2 separate regions of the Homo sapiens genome follow, and region 1 is linked to region 2. Evidence: promoter capture Hi-C in 16 types of primary human blood cells and fetal thymus (Javierre and others, 2016). All regions are on one chromosome and are shown on one strand. The core of a region is centred on a gene start or on the middle of the fragment in contact, and the rest is flanking DNA. Distances in the headings are between cores, read along the strand shown. Region 1 overlaps SLC14A2 (solute carrier family 14 member 2). Region 2 holds the start of PSTPIP2 (proline-serine-threonine phosphatase interacting protein 2).

Region 1 (2,700 bases), core at 174-2,673, 400 kb before region 2:
ATCTTTCCAGAGCTCAGCCCATGGGTTTAATGCCCTCTATGCAGCAAGAACATGTTCTTGAAAATTCATGGTACCACCACAGGGGTCAGAGGCAGCTCAGGGCACCTAATCCCCCCTGCCAGAAAAACAACCTGGAGGTCACATCTGGCTGGTGATGGGTCTCAAGAGTTTTCTTGGCAGTCAGATGCTCTCTTGAGTTCCTTGTTTACCATCTTTGGTGGCAGGTGACAGCAGGTGGCTGGCTTCCTGCAAACCCACTTCGGATATCCAGATTCCCTCACACCCTCCATCTGCCCACCCAGGGCTGCCCACACTGAGCACTTGCCTACTTCCTGCCCCGGTTCCATTTCAGACAAGTCCCCAGTGTTCCAGTTCTTTGACTGGGTCCTCCGAGGCACATCTCAAGTGATGTTTGTGAACAACCCCCTCAGCGGCATCCTCATCATCCTCGGCCTCTTCATCCAGAACCCCTGGTGGGCGATCTCAGGCTGCCTGGGTACCATCATGTCCACCTTGACAGCCCTCATCCTGAGTCAGGACAAGTAAGTCCCAGAGGCTCAGGGTCCAAACATGTAGCCAAGAAGTCACTCCCCATGGGGACCATTCTTCCTCTTCCCAGCTGAGAAATCCTCAAAATAAGGACACTGACAACTAAAAATGACTGTTCCCTGGTTATTTTGTCATAGCAACATATTTCTAGAGAAATATGAAGGATTCATAGGGTTGTCTTCCTTCCCCACTCCCAGAAGGGTGGTCTATTTGAAGGCGTGTGTAGTCAGGCCCCAGATAAAAAGAATCTGACTCAATAGGAAAATGTAAAGGGCCCTGGGGAAGCCCCTGCTCCACCTGACCCTCCCTCTCCTGCCAGGTCGGCCATCGCTGCAGGATTTCACGGCTACAATGGGGTGCTGGTGGGGCTGCTGATGGCCGTGTTCTCAGACAAAGGTGACTACTACTGGTGGCTGTTGCTACCCGTCATCATCATGTCCATGTCTTGGTAAGTTTGCTTTTGAAGGGTTGTGGGTTCATATCAATGGCCACCAACCTTTTCATCCCAATCCCATGACCGTCTGTCTAAACGTGATATTAAAGTGGCATGTATTTAGCTTGCACATCAGAAATGTCCACTGGACTAATAACTAAGTTTATACCATGGTAGCCCCATGCTAGGTCTATACACAGTATCCCATTAGCGACCACCCTTTATTATTCTTTTAAGATCTAAATGGTTTTTGGTCTCACCCTGCCAGAGTGCAGAGAAAGAAACTGAGGCCCACATTGGTTAAGAGCTGCACTATAGGGTCCTGTCAGTTTCTGGAAATCTTTTCAACCCTCCCCTACCCCGGCTTTTCTAAATCCTTGGGACCCCTGAGCAGACCAAGACCACCTCCCAGGGTAGGCTGAAGGCCCAGCCATGGGGAAGCCCTCAGTGCCTGCTCTACCCCATGTTGAGAAAACACAGGGCACCCTGGCCACAAAGCCCATGCACACAGCCACTCAAAAAAACATTTGTTGAATGAATGTGATTCCCTCCCCTCGGCCTCCCCAACCTGATGCCTGGGGATGGAGCTATAGGATTCCTGAAGGAAGTTCTGAGACTGCCTGCCTTATATCTTCTTCTGAAGTTGAGTCTGGGTGCCCCACCCTGTCACTGTGCAGGGAGGAAGAGGCCCAGGGAAAGACCTGCTCAGGGCCAGTCAGGCTCCAGAGAATACCCAGCAGGCTGCTTTTCTCTAGGAAGGCACAGGGAGCCCCCACTGCAGCACAGTCTAGTGTTATGACCAGGCGGCTTCCTGACCAGCATCTCTCATGCTTCTGCCATCAGCCCCATCCTCTCCAGTGCCCTGGGTACCATCTTCAGCAAGTGGGACCTCCCAGTCTTCACACTGCCCTTCAATATCACTGTGACTTTGTACCTGGCAGCCACGGGCCACTACAACCTTTTCTTCCCCACAACGCTGCTGCAGCCTGCATCCGCCATGCCCAACATCACCTGGTCAGAGGTCCAAGTGCCCTTGGTACGTATCATGGAAGGAGGAAGGGCAGGTCTGTCCACACTGGATGTTACTGGCATTTGCATATTTTGCACATCAGAAACATCCACAAGTAATAATTTTTAACAATTACACAGTACCAAGCATTCTACATATATATCTCATGAGCTGCCATCCTTTTCTACTTCTGAGAGCAAAAAGGGCTAGTTTTGGTCTCACTCTATGATAGCACAGAGAAGGAAACTGCGGCCACGTTAAGAGACCTGCCTTAGGTCTTACAGCCAATTAGGGAGGAGCAAAGTCAAGACTAGAACTTCAGCCTCCTGACTTCCAGCCTGGGCTCTTTGTGGATGTTTAAAAAGTCTTTTTGAGGCTTACAGCTTGCGTTGTGCATTTTCTTTCATTCAATCACACGGAATCATTCAAGTCGTACACATCATGCTACCATCTATTGGCTTAAGAAGTCGTTGTTCCAACCTCCAGAGTTTATTCCCTTCACTCACCAAAGCTGGGCCTGGTGGCACATGCCTATAGTCCCAGCTACTCAGAAGGCTGAGGTGGGAGGATCGCTTGAGCCCAGGAGTTTGAGGCTGCAGTGCGCTGTGATTGTGTCACTGCACTCCATGAGACTCTATCTCCAAAACAAAAACAAAAACCCCAAAATCAAATCGTTTTCTTGCTAAATACTGGTGCTTCTCAGTGTAAA
Region 2 (2,700 bases), core at 36-2,535:
CCTCCATTCTACCTGAAAAACTCGCAAGCCTCCCGTGAGAGCCATCTGTGGTGCCCTTGGTTCCTCTGTGAGGCTGCCACCACCCTGCACCCTAGGGTGAGTAGTGCCCCAGAAGGACCTCACAAACTCCAGTGAAGGGACTCACAGGCACAGTCTCAACTGTGTCCCTGAGGTCCCCAGCCAGGTTTCTCTACCCTGCAGCCCACGTGGGGTAGAGGGACCATCTAGGCAGCTGTGAAGCTACCTGGGTGGGTGGTGGGGGGAGGCAAGCAGGAGCCCCAGTAAGGAGTCAGGGCCCCTTGGCAGCTGCGGTCAACTTTGAGGTTTGCAGCCTCCTGCTCCTGTCTTAAAGGGATGAGGACAGCTCCTCTGAATGAGGGGGCATGGACCTTGAGGGGCACCTGGGGAGTGAGAGGACAGAGGGAAGAGGACTAGACAGAGGAGGGGGACAGGCAGACCTGCTCCCTCCAGGCTGGGCTGGCCCTACCGGGCTGGGTGGGGTACCCCCTCCAGCTTATAGGGTCTCCCACACCATCAGCCCCGCTATGGGGCCTGGACGGAAGGGCTGGGGCAATGGCCTGGGGAGGGGGCTCGGGAAACAAGGCTGTAGAACAGGGAAAGCTCCAGCAAAGGGAAGCCCTCTATGCTGTACGTTTCCTGGAAAGGACGATCCCGGGGGGCAGCTGCTGCTGTCAACCCGGTAAAGCTCACAAGCCCCCACACCAGATCCCCCCAGATCCTCTCACGGCTCAGCTCCAGGGACCGGCAGAGACTCTCCCCGGACGGGTCTCGCCTCCCTAAGGGTCTCTGCTTCGCCTGTGAGAGGAGGGGTTGATGTCCTGACTCTAAGGTGTCTCGGCTCTCTGCGTCCTCAGGAGCACGCGCTGCTGGGGGCGCGGGCGGCAGAGGGTGGGCCCTGGAGTCCGAGCCCCCGGGACTCGCGGGCACGCGGTGGGTAGCGGGGGACAGAGAGGGAACAGCAGCCCGGCGTCCGCTCCAAGTCTGCCCCTCGAGCAGTGGGGCTGGGGCCCCGATCCCTTCACGCGCGAGCTCCGCCAAGCCCCCGGGCGCGCGGTCACCGAGTGGCGCCGGAGCTGGGGAGCCCCCCACGCCCGCCGCGTTGGCCTCCCGCCCGGGCCGGGTCCTGAGCCCCGCGATCCGCTGTCGGCCCCACGACTTACCCAAAAGTTTCCCTTGAACAGTGAGCGCGTCATCGCAGCGCGAGTGGGGGCGCGGAGGAGAGCCGGGCCGCAGGTAGCACAGAGCGGGGAGGCCTGACTGCCACTGCCCGCGGCTCCGCAGACTCAACTTCTGCGTTCCACACTCGCGCAGGGAAGCCGCCCCCGGGTCCTAAACCACTCCCGATTGCGACGGCCGCCGTCGGCGCTCTGCGCTCCCTGCGCGAGACCTGGGCGGGACCCTCGGCGCTCACCCGGCCAGGGGCTGCAGCCCGCACCCGGACCCAGGCCCATTTAAAGCCCCACAGCGTCGGGCCACGATCAATATATCAGCCCGAAGCTAGCTGCCTCCTTCTGGAAGTCTTTGGGTATTGGAAATAACTGGTCCTGGCTTGGGTTCCTGCCCACAAGGCCCCCTGGACAGCACGAAATCCAGGCTCTGCGGGGTGATAGACGGGATCTGATCAGATGGTCGCGAGGACCCGGTTTAAGCTACAGAAGGCCTGGGGCCGACAACTCCCGCAGACGCCTTGGCTTCACGGCGGGCCCCACCGGCACCTGCTGCAGATCAGGCCCTGGGGGACGGTTCATTTTTTATTTTACTTTTTGTTGTTGCAGGTGTTTTTAATGAATGGGGTCACGTTTTAGTCTAAAATGTCATGGAGAGGTCATCTCTGCTGTTTCCCCTTGACTCTAGTCACTTGGTGGTGTCCTAACAGGGCTTCCAGGAGCTCAGCCGCTCTCTGACTCCCTTTCCATTCTCAAAAGGCAAGACCCTTCCCTGCCCATTCCACCCCAGCAAGAGGGGCCCAAGATTCCTTCTTCTCCCTCCACTCTTCCACCCTCACAAATAAAACCCCAGGGCAGGTCAGACCCCTCTCTGCATTGTAGTAGATTGGTACAAAAGTAATTGCGGTTTTTGCCATGACTTTTAATAGTAATGCAGGGCTTATGACAAAGTACTGCCTGGTGCGACAGGCCCGAAGCCCAACCTGAGGCCCAGAGGGGTTGAATGGCTTGCCCAAGATCACAGTTTATTTAAGGGATGAAGAGCTCAAGGTTAGAGCTCTGCCCTTCTAAATAGATGCAAAGACAGACATCCTTCCTGGGGCAGATCCATCCTGGGCAGAGGAATAGGTGCTCAAAGTGGGGAGGATAAAGGTCAAGGTTGCCAAGACTGGCACCAGCCCAGCCTGGAGAAGCAAGCACTCACCCCTGGAGCAGGTTCTAGCTACACCCAGACACAGTGAAAGGGCAATTGCTAGAATTATGTGAAGCACCTGGAACAAGTTCTGCTCCATAAAACTGCAGCCAGCCCCACTCAGATGAACTCCCACCAATAAAGTCATCCACAACTGCAAAGATGGAGAGGTGGCCTCCAGCCACCAAGCATCTCCAAGGGATGCATCCATTTACGTACTTGCTCATATCCTTTGAAAGCAGTGAGATTAGAAGGAAGGCAGAGAAGCCTGGCAGAACCATCAAGGGGCAGCAGAGGACGTGGTAGGCACTAGGAAGCTAG

What was found. Contacts are between HindIII fragments. The CHiCAGO score rates a contact against its expected background, and 5 or more counts as called.
Region 1: a fragment that was not itself captured here is called in contact with the fragment with the promoter of PSTPIP2 in region 2 in 2 of 17 cell types (erythroblasts and monocytes); the score reaches 7.8 in erythroblasts.

Annotation. Positions count from the first base shown.
Region 1 is chr18:45,667,481-45,670,180 of GRCh38, forward strand. SLC14A2 (solute carrier family 14 member 2) reads left to right here. Exons shown (of 20, transcript NM_007163.4): 14 at 353-542; 15 at 869-997; 16 at 1,826-2,018. All of the region lies in intron 7 of LOC105372093 (a long non-coding RNA gene), which reads right to left. Among named protein-coding and RNA genes, the nearest start is that of SLC14A2, 53 kb to the left of the region's middle. The HindIII fragment of the contact is 7,663 bases long and covers 1-2,700 here.
Region 2 is chr18:46,070,975-46,073,674 of GRCh38, forward strand. PSTPIP2 (proline-serine-threonine phosphatase interacting protein 2) reads right to left here and starts at 1,286. Exons shown (of 15, transcript NM_024430.4): 1 at 1,182-1,286. The coding sequence starts at 1,214. RefSeq lists silencers at 822-1,201, 1,242-1,291, 1,422-1,581 and an enhancer at 1,191-1,692. The HindIII fragment of the contact is 16,135 bases long and covers 1-2,700 here.